2 separate regions of the Homo sapiens genome follow, and region 2 is linked to region 1. Evidence: promoter capture Hi-C in human tissues and cell types (Jung and others, 2019). All regions are on one chromosome and are shown on one strand. The core of a region is centred on a gene start or on the middle of the fragment in contact, and the rest is flanking DNA. Distances in the headings are between cores, read along the strand shown.

Region 1 (4,450 bases), core at 1,365-3,864:
TAAAAAGAGGTTGTATGAATGACCCAAAGCATATGAAAAAATCATCAGCCTCACTAGCCATTAGGAAAATGTGAATTAAAACTATGATGAGATGCCATTACATTCTGACTAGAATGGCCAAAATAGAAAACAAAACAGAGTACCTACCAACTGTTGGCCAGAATGTGAAATAACTGAAACACTCGTATATTGCTGGCAATAGTATGAAATGGTGCAACCACTCTATAGAACTCTGGCAGTTTTTTCTTAAGTTAAACATACACTTATCATATGATTTGACATTTTTACTCATAGGTATTTACTCAAGAGTGAGGAAATTGTATATCCAGAAGAAGAGAAATACATGAATGTTGATATCAGTTTTATTTATAATGGCCAATAATTGAAAACCATTTGAATGTTCATTAACAGGAAAGAGAAATTTTTTAATGTGGTATATCCAACACTACTCAGGAACACTGCTCAGGAACAAACTACTGATTAATACAACAAAACAGAAGAACTTCAAAAACATTATGCTGAGTTAAAGAAGCCTCACATATAACAATACACACTCTATAACTGTATGTGTGTGTGTGTGTGTGTATATATGGCATCTATATATCTATATCTATAGATATATAGATGCATAAAATTCTAGAAATCAAAAACTCTCTTATTGTTACCAAAAGCAGATAAGTAGTTGCTTGGGAAAAAGGGCTGGAGGGGAGAGGGTAAACTGCAAAGGGCACTGACATTGTGGTCACACAAGTGTATACATTGTCAAAACTCTAACTGAAATGTGGACTAACATGTTGCATTTTATTATATGTAAATTATACCTCAATAATATTTACTTTAAAAGGCATAATGTAAAATATGTATGTACACATACATACAATATAATTACTAAAAAACCGTTATCTTTTTATGTGGCAGTTACTCATATTAAACTTTTTAACCCTCTCAATTCTCTCAACACATCAGTATAGTAATAGTGGCAAGTCCAAACTTCCCTAATTCTATTCCAAATAACTGTTCTAATTATCTGTAGCTCACCATTTAAATAGGAGTACTTGAGATAATAAAATAATTACCTAAATCACCCATCTCAATGAATGATTTAGAATTGAAGAGCCATTGCCAAACAAAAGATTGTAGATTTACAATTAACATCTAAGTATGCTGTAGTATATGTTTTTAATTTACAATAGAATCTGCCAATAATTTCCTCAAATAAGTTTCAAATTCCTAATAATGTAGAAATACATGTCATAAATACATAATATTCTTAGGTAAGATGCTATTATAGAGAAGAATTTAAAACATTTACAGTGACCTTCACAATAAAAGAAACCAGGGGAAGCATAAAATATCTTTTAAACTCCTTGTAGACTCCTGTTTCTGTCTGCAATATTCAATAATCTGTGGTCTGAATGGCTTATGAAATTGTGAGTTTCTCATCGTTTAGCCCATACCTTAGCTGCCACCAAAAGAAAGGCCTGTCTTAACTTAGCGTTTCCTAGAATCAGAAGAAAGGAGTGGCTTGAAGGAGAGAAGACTCCAATCGTCTCACAAAGCATGTAGATCACTGTGTTCTGATACAGCTCAGAAATCCATGATATGAGAACACATAGAAAGAAACTAGCATAGAATAAAAGGAATGAGATCACAATTTTCAAGGCATTTGTATGGACCTTGGTCCTGGGGTCTCTGTGTCCTTTGTAATTGAGTTGCATTTTCTGGAGATGTTTCTGCAGGGAGAAAATTAACAGGAGAAAAGAGATGAAGGCCACAGTAAATGGTGTTAGACTGAACATAGTCATAGTGAATTTGACCGACACTGAAAATGTTTCAAAGTCACTCATACTGAAATTCCAAGTTGTGTTTCTTTCATATCGGTCCAGCCAGTCTTTTATATGCATGTTTATTTGTATCAGATTTAAAAATAAGAAGACCAAGGTTCCTAGCAGTATCATCAGAATCACTTTGTTTACTCTCCACTTCAAATAGAGAAAAGCAGGGCTAGAGAAACTCGCTATTTTGAGCAAATAAAAGATGCTGAAGATTGTAGCAAGCCAGAGATTGAAGTGATTAGAAACTATCCAGCTAAAAATCATAATTCTTAATCCTGTTCCAGACACAAATATGGCTAGATAATGCAGAGCTAAAAACCAACTTACTAATATTTCCCAGATCAGCCCAATTCTGGAGATTGCCAAGATAATGAGGAGTTTATCGACTGAGGACAGCTCTCTTTTACTGACCCAGTCAATGCAGTTGATCAGTACTATAAATCCATTGCTCAAATTCCCAATTATGAATTCTGCAATTATTACAAGAGTGAAGATACTCGGCAGGGCACTTTCCATGTCAGAACAGAGAAAGTTCAATGTCTAATGTCACTGCTGGTTATTCACTGATCTAAAATGCTATTCACATCCTTGAGTGTCCAGTGGAGTTCTTCTTCCTTCTCCTTTTTCTGCTCCTTCTTTCATTGTTGGCTCAACGTCAAAGCAGAAATCTCTAAAGTTTGCTGATCGATCTTCACATAACTGTTCTGGTGATATCTTTATTTTTCTTCAATTTCTCTGCTGAGCCCTAGCTAAGATATTTATGTCTTCACCATGGGCAGAAATATTTCATAGATGATTATGCAGCAAAGTTAAACTCACATTTGCAACCATGCAAATAAAGATATATTCTCTTTCATTGTTTTGTACTTTTTTGCCTTGTCTGAGCATAGAAAATTAGATTCAACCAGCTTGAGTTCTGAGGTACAAATATTATAAAAATCTGATTCATAGAATATGTAGCTAAATGAAGCTTTTATGGCTAATAGCATAGCCAATGAAGCTTTATAAAATATGCAAAGACTTACCTATGCTATTTCAAAAGAGTGCTCAATTTCTTGTGGAGCTAAAGCTGGATCTGGTCAATACTGTGACTAAAGAGAAACTCGTTTACAAAGCATCCATCTTTCTCATTCCCTGCCTCATCACTACTTAGCAGTGCTCACCACCATCCCTCCATAGGCACCAAATGCCTTCACATTTTATCCGCTTTTCCCCTCATATTTCTTTTTTAAACTTAAAAGTGATAAAAAAACAAATTTTACAAAATCAGCAACAGCTACCAAAGAAAGCAGTACTATATTACATCATAACTTGCAAAACTGAAAACCAAGCAAAGAAATAGATACACTAGTTCCCCTTATCCATGAGGCCTATGTCCCAAGACCCCCAGTGGATGCCTAAAACAGCAGATAGTACCAAACTCTATATACAATATATTTTTTTCCTGTATTCACCTACCTATGATAAAGTTTAATTTGTAAATCAAGCACAGTAAAAGATTACAAAAATAACTAATAATAAAATAGAACAATTAAAACAATATACTATAATAAAAGTTGCCAGGGGTTGTGGCTCATCCCTGTAATCCTAGCAATTTGGGAGATTGAGGCGGGAGGACCGCTCGAGCCCAAAAGTTTGAGACCGGCCTGGGCAACATAGGGAGACCCTGTATCTAAAATAAATAAAAATTAAAAAAATAAAAAGTAAAAAAATGTGTTAAAATATATAGTGTGGTGTCTCTCACTCTCTCAAGATACCTTACTGTACTGTACACACCTATTTTTGGACTGTGGTTGACCTTGGGTCACTGAAACTGCAGATAAGCGGGGACTAATGTGTTCATTGTGAAGAGTCAAGGTTCCTCACCCCGCCCCACTCTTTCAAAAACTACCGAAAAAAAGTGGATTACCAAAATTCTGAAAACGTGGAGACTCAAGAAAGATTGTCTAATTCAAAATTAATATAAATAAAACACTTTATCTTGATTATAAGATAATAAGTAGCCATTTAGCTAGATGAATACAAAGCTATTTTTATTTAATAAAGATATAATTTGTGAATTATGAATGTTTGTATTTTATTACTCATGCAATCTTTATTGGGTGATCTACAGAGTACTAAAAAATTTACAAAATAATTGCATCATCTTTAATGATTTGCAAGTTTCAATTATAACTTAAAATAGGTAGATATTTTCTATTTTGTTGTTATAATGGTATATTTGTCAAGATAGAATAGAAAATGTCTCCTTTAACAGTTTGTTAGGTTTGTATATTTATGACCTTTAAATATGTAGCTATGTGGCATGTGGTCTTCCATTTGCATTCTTGACCCAGGGCTGAAGAGATCTTTTATACTTTTTCATTTTAGGGTGTTCTTCCTACCTATCTAGAGAAAAGGGTTTGGGGATGCCGGTCACAACTTGATAATACCCCAAATCTGTACAAATAGGCCTGAGGAATGGTACTGTACTTGCTGGTATATGAAAAAATACCACAGTTTTTAGAACTTGTGATATAACACATGACAAAGACATAGAGAATGGATAACAGGCTTGCGGTTCTGAGCTGCATTTTCCTGGTGTGTTTCCATAAGAGAAAACATTTAAAAATATA
Region 2 (4,450 bases), core at 1,280-3,779, 1.0 Mb after region 1:
CATCAGATTCTCATAGGAGCATGAACCTTATTGTGAACTGCACATGTGAGGGATCTAGGCTGTGAGCTCCTTAGGAGAAGCTAATGCCTGATGATCTGAGGTGGAACAGTTTCATCCCGAAGTCATGCCCCTTCCACCTGCCATTGGTTCATGGAAAAATTATCTTCCAGGAAACCAGTTTCTGGTGCCTGGTTGGGGCCCACTGCACTATGGGGGATAGCAAGGCTGCTGCTTGGGTACGTGCTGCTTCTCTGTTAAAATATCCTGCTAGGCATATGCAATCCTGCAGGCACATGACTTGGCAAGGTCTGTTCTTTATACGAAGAGAAACATGCTCCTTCTTTGGGGGACATTACCCTGCCCCAGTGCACAGCTTGCTGAGCAAAGTGCAGCTTAGATTTCAGCCCCTCCCTGACTCCTCAACTGGCACCACCATTTGTGACAACTCCAGAGCTGACTGCCTGGGAGGAAACAGAAGGAACCAGGGCCTCTCGGCCTCTCGGAGTCTCTTCAAAGTCAAACAGCTTGTGTGGTGGGAACAAGATGACGGGGAGTCAGAAGGATGGGTGCTGTGGTCACAGCATGAAGCACGGGGTGTAAGACTTCTGGGGGGATCCTCAGCGTGGGATAGCAAGTCCTGTGGGAGGGTGGAGTGCAGTGGTGATAAGATCTTGAAACTGAGGAAGCAGTTTGAGAGGCAGATCATCTATAGGGGTATTAAAAATTGAGTGGAAGAAAATGAAGAATGAAGCCTCAGTGAGAGAATCACAAGGAAACAGTAGGTGACAATGAGAGGAGGTAGAGCCAGGTGGTAATAGCCTCGGACGACTTCACACAGGGGCAGAGTAGCCATGGGAGCAAACAAGCGACAACCACAACAGTCTAGCTTTCCTCTCCTGGCCCCTTGCTACCTGGAACATCAATTTGTTCATTTAAGCAAATATTTATTTATTTAAACCAATAATGAACCTCCATGTCTTAGTTGGCTCAGGCTGCCAGAACGAAATACCATGGCTTAAACAATAGGAATTTATTTTTCATAGTTCTTGTAAGAGTCCATTCTCGCACTGCTTTAAAGGAATACCTGAGACTGGGTAATTTATAAAGGAAAGAGGTTTAATTGGCTCACAGTTCTGCAGGCTGTACAGGAAGCATAGCGGCTTCTGCTTCTGGGGAGGCTTTAGGAAGCTTCCAACCATGCTGGAAGGCAAAGCAGGAGCGACAGGTCCCACATGGAGGGAGCAGGAGCAAGAGAGAGAGGGAGGAGGAGGTGCTGCACACTTTTAAACAACCAGATCTGACGAGAACTCCCTCACTATCCCAAAGAGAGTACCAAGTGGGGGGGGTGGTGGTGTTAAACCATTCATGAGAACCCGCCCCTATGATCTAGTCACCTCCCACCAGGCCCACCTCCAACACTGGGAATTGCAATTCTACATGAGATTTGGGTGGGGAGACAGACCCAAACCATATCAGTTCTGGAGTCTGGAAGTCGGAGATCAGGGTGTCAGCCAGCATGGCTGGGGTCTGGTGATGGCCACCTTCTCACTGTGTCCTCGCCTGAGGTCGGGGCAGAGAGAGAGAGCACATATGAGCTCTCTGGTGTCTCTTCTTATAAGGACACTAATCCCACCATGAGGGTCCTACTCTTACGACCTCATCTGAACCTAATCACCTCCTAAAGACCCCCTCTCCAAACACCATCACATTGGGCAACCCAACTTGTTATCTCCAGCCTGAGCCTCCCCCCAGAACTCTTGGACCCCTGTGCTTCATGCTGTGACCACAGCTCCCATCCTTCTGACTCCCCGTCATCTCGTTCCCACCACAAATATTCTTTGACTTTGAAGAGACACCGAGAGGCCAAGAGGCCCTGGGTGCCTCTGTTTCTTCCCAGGCAGTCAGCTCTGGAATTGTCAGAAATGGTGGTGCCAGCTGAGGAGCTCCTCAGTGGGCTTCAATGCATGATTGGGGAGGGGAGGGACACAACTCAGTCCACAGCACTCCACTATCTGTGAACAAAAACAAAGTCTCTATTCTCATGAAGCTTACTTAGCTTCTACTAGAGGGAGGTGGACAATAAACAAAAAATAAATAAATGATATATTGAGGTAACAAGGCCATAAAAAGATTAGGTTGGTGGGGTGAGGAGCGGCTGGGCATTACTCTGTATAGAATGAACATGGAAGATGAAGGAGTAAGACAGTGAATATCTGTGTGAAGAGTTTTCAAGTCTGAGAGCAGCAAGTGCAAACACCCTGAGGCAGGATCAGGTTTTACCTGTGGAGCTGCCGAAGAGAGAGGGAGGAGGAGGAAAGTAGAATTTGTATTCGTTGGAGTGTAACTGGGGGGCCAACCACGTAGGCGCATTGTAAAGACTTCAGCTTTTACAGCTGAAGGTGGAAAGCCATGGCAGGTTAAAGGGGAGGGAGGTGACATGACCGAGAAAGGGAGGATGGGAACCCTGAGGTGAGAAAGTGACACGGGGGTGCTCCTCGGGAGAAAGGTGTGTTGCAGAAAGGACAAGGAGGTGGCAGCAGAGTGGTTTGGATAGGCTGAGTGTAGTGGTGTGAGGGTCCCACAGGCACAGACCCCTGGGGTCTGCAGCAGCCAGAAGGGGCTGCCCTGTGGGAGACCCATTCTGGGGAAGGGCTGAGGTTCCATGTGGAAGCCGCCGGCAGCAAGTTCCACAAGGTCTCAGGATGGAAGATGAGAGGGGATATGGCAAAGCCTGGGTGCCTCTTAGAATGTGCAGAAAGGCTTTCTGGAGAGTAGGCAGAGGGCATGAGTCTCTCTGGCCAAGAGCTGCCTCCTGCTACGTTTTGAGAGGAAAAGGTAGCACAGTGGAAACTAGGAAAGCTGTCCAGCCAGGAAAAGCCCCCATCCCTGAGATCTGGGTCAGCCTAAAGGTTCTGATGCTTTGGTGAGCCGGAGGAGGAGCTTCACAAGGAAGAGTCACTGGAAGGAGAAACCAGAAGCAGGGAGGGAAGGGCTGCCACCTGAGGAGACGTCCTCCTTCACGACTTTGCTGGCCTGGTCACCTGGGCCTGCAGGGGAAGGGCAGGGAGGTGCCACCTATTGTGAAGGAAAATCAGCCACAGTGTATGTCTAAGCAAAAGCCACTCTCCAAACCCTCGTTTGCAATTTTGTCACTTCTTTGGCAACAAGCCCCCTGCAGCTGTTCCACCCAGAGCCTCTGCCAGGTGACCTGGCCGTGCCCAGTGCCCCACAGCTGCAGCCTGCTGGCGGGGACTCCAAGTCTCCCCTGCTCCCAGCTTTCCTGACTCGGGGCTGTTGGGCTTGGAGGGAGCTGCATTGGGGGACAGGTGAGGGAGGAGGCCGGGGCACCAGCAGGAAGCTCTGGCTCTCCTTCTCTTTCCTGGTAAAAGCAAGGCACAAAGCACTCTTTGATCTGTGCCCTCTGCCAGTTCTGGCAGGGCTGCGCTTGTCACTGTTCCAAAAAAGAGCAGAAGGTTACTTAGCTATGGATGAATAATAATTGGGCATTTGTCTAACAGCTACTGTACTGATGAATAATTAAAATTTTTATTACAATTGAGGCAAAGAGCACTCTACCCATACGGATGGTCTGTCAGCTCTGCCAGAGGAAATGCAGGTAATTGAAGAGTGTCCTCCAAGTTCTGAAATAATAGTCATGATCATGGCAAAGATGTCTGGGTTAAAAGCTGGGAAAATAGGTGGACAACCAGACCCAATCACCAAGGCTTCTTCCTTTTTGGGATGTAATAAGGTAAATCGGCTAAAGCTGGTCTTGGGAGTGCAAATGGCTGGAACAGTCAGGGAAAGCTAGGAGTGAAAACCAGGAGGAACAGAAATAAAGAGAAATAGATGAAGACTTACTAGGCAAATGCCCTTATATAGTAGCTGATGAGGATGACTTTGATGAGATAAGAGGGGACAGCTGGAGCATAATGGAAAAAGTCAGAAATGAGAACACCCTTGTCAAATGGCTTGGCTCCTTTTTGGCTGTAATCTTGTGCAAACTCACTTAACCTGCACAAGCTTCCCTTTCTGCCTCTATAAAATGGGGATGATACTGTTTAATCATTGGCTCATCTTCTGAGGATTAAACAAGATAATGTTGAGAATATTTAATAATTATGAAGGCAGACAGCAAATGCAAGTAATTATAACTCAGAAGTCAGAATTAAAGGTAACTGGGTTCAAACAGCTTAAGAGTTGGGACGGGTTGAGTGAATGAGGATACAGAAACAGTGGAGAAGAAAATCAGTGGTGTTGGGGTTGGACCAAATGAAATCAACAGTGGAATTTCACTAACTTAAATACATTGTGCAAGGTAAACAAATTCCTTTAGTTATCAAATACCATTTGATACTTCCCGGGTGTGTTAATAAGACAGTCCACTCAAAAAATGGACCACTAAATGATAATTATTTTGATGGGAGAGTGTCTATGGAATTCATACACC

What was found. Contacts are between HindIII fragments. The study calls those that stand out against the background at their distance.
Region 2: a fragment that was not itself captured here is called in contact with the fragment with the promoter of TAS2R13 in region 1 in 1 of the 25 tissues and cell types used here (mesenchymal stem cells).

What each region holds. Positions count from the first base shown.
Region 1 is chr12:10,906,948-10,911,397 of GRCh38, forward strand. It overlaps TAS2R13 (taste 2 receptor member 13), which reads right to left and starts at 2,615. Exons shown (of 1, transcript NM_023920.2): 1 at 979-2,615. The coding sequence starts at 2,351. The coding sequence ends at 1,440. The region is part of intron 4 of PRH1-PRR4 (PRH1-PRR4 readthrough); the gene reads right to left. It also overlaps a transcript of PRH1 not described here. The HindIII fragment of the contact is 21,748 bases long and covers 1-4,450 here.
Region 2 is chr12:11,946,901-11,951,350 of GRCh38, forward strand. No RefSeq gene overlaps it. Among named protein-coding and RNA genes, the nearest start is that of BCL2L14, 120 kb to the right of the region's middle. RefSeq lists an enhancer at 2,924-3,708. The HindIII fragment of the contact is 4,348 bases long and covers 356-4,450 here.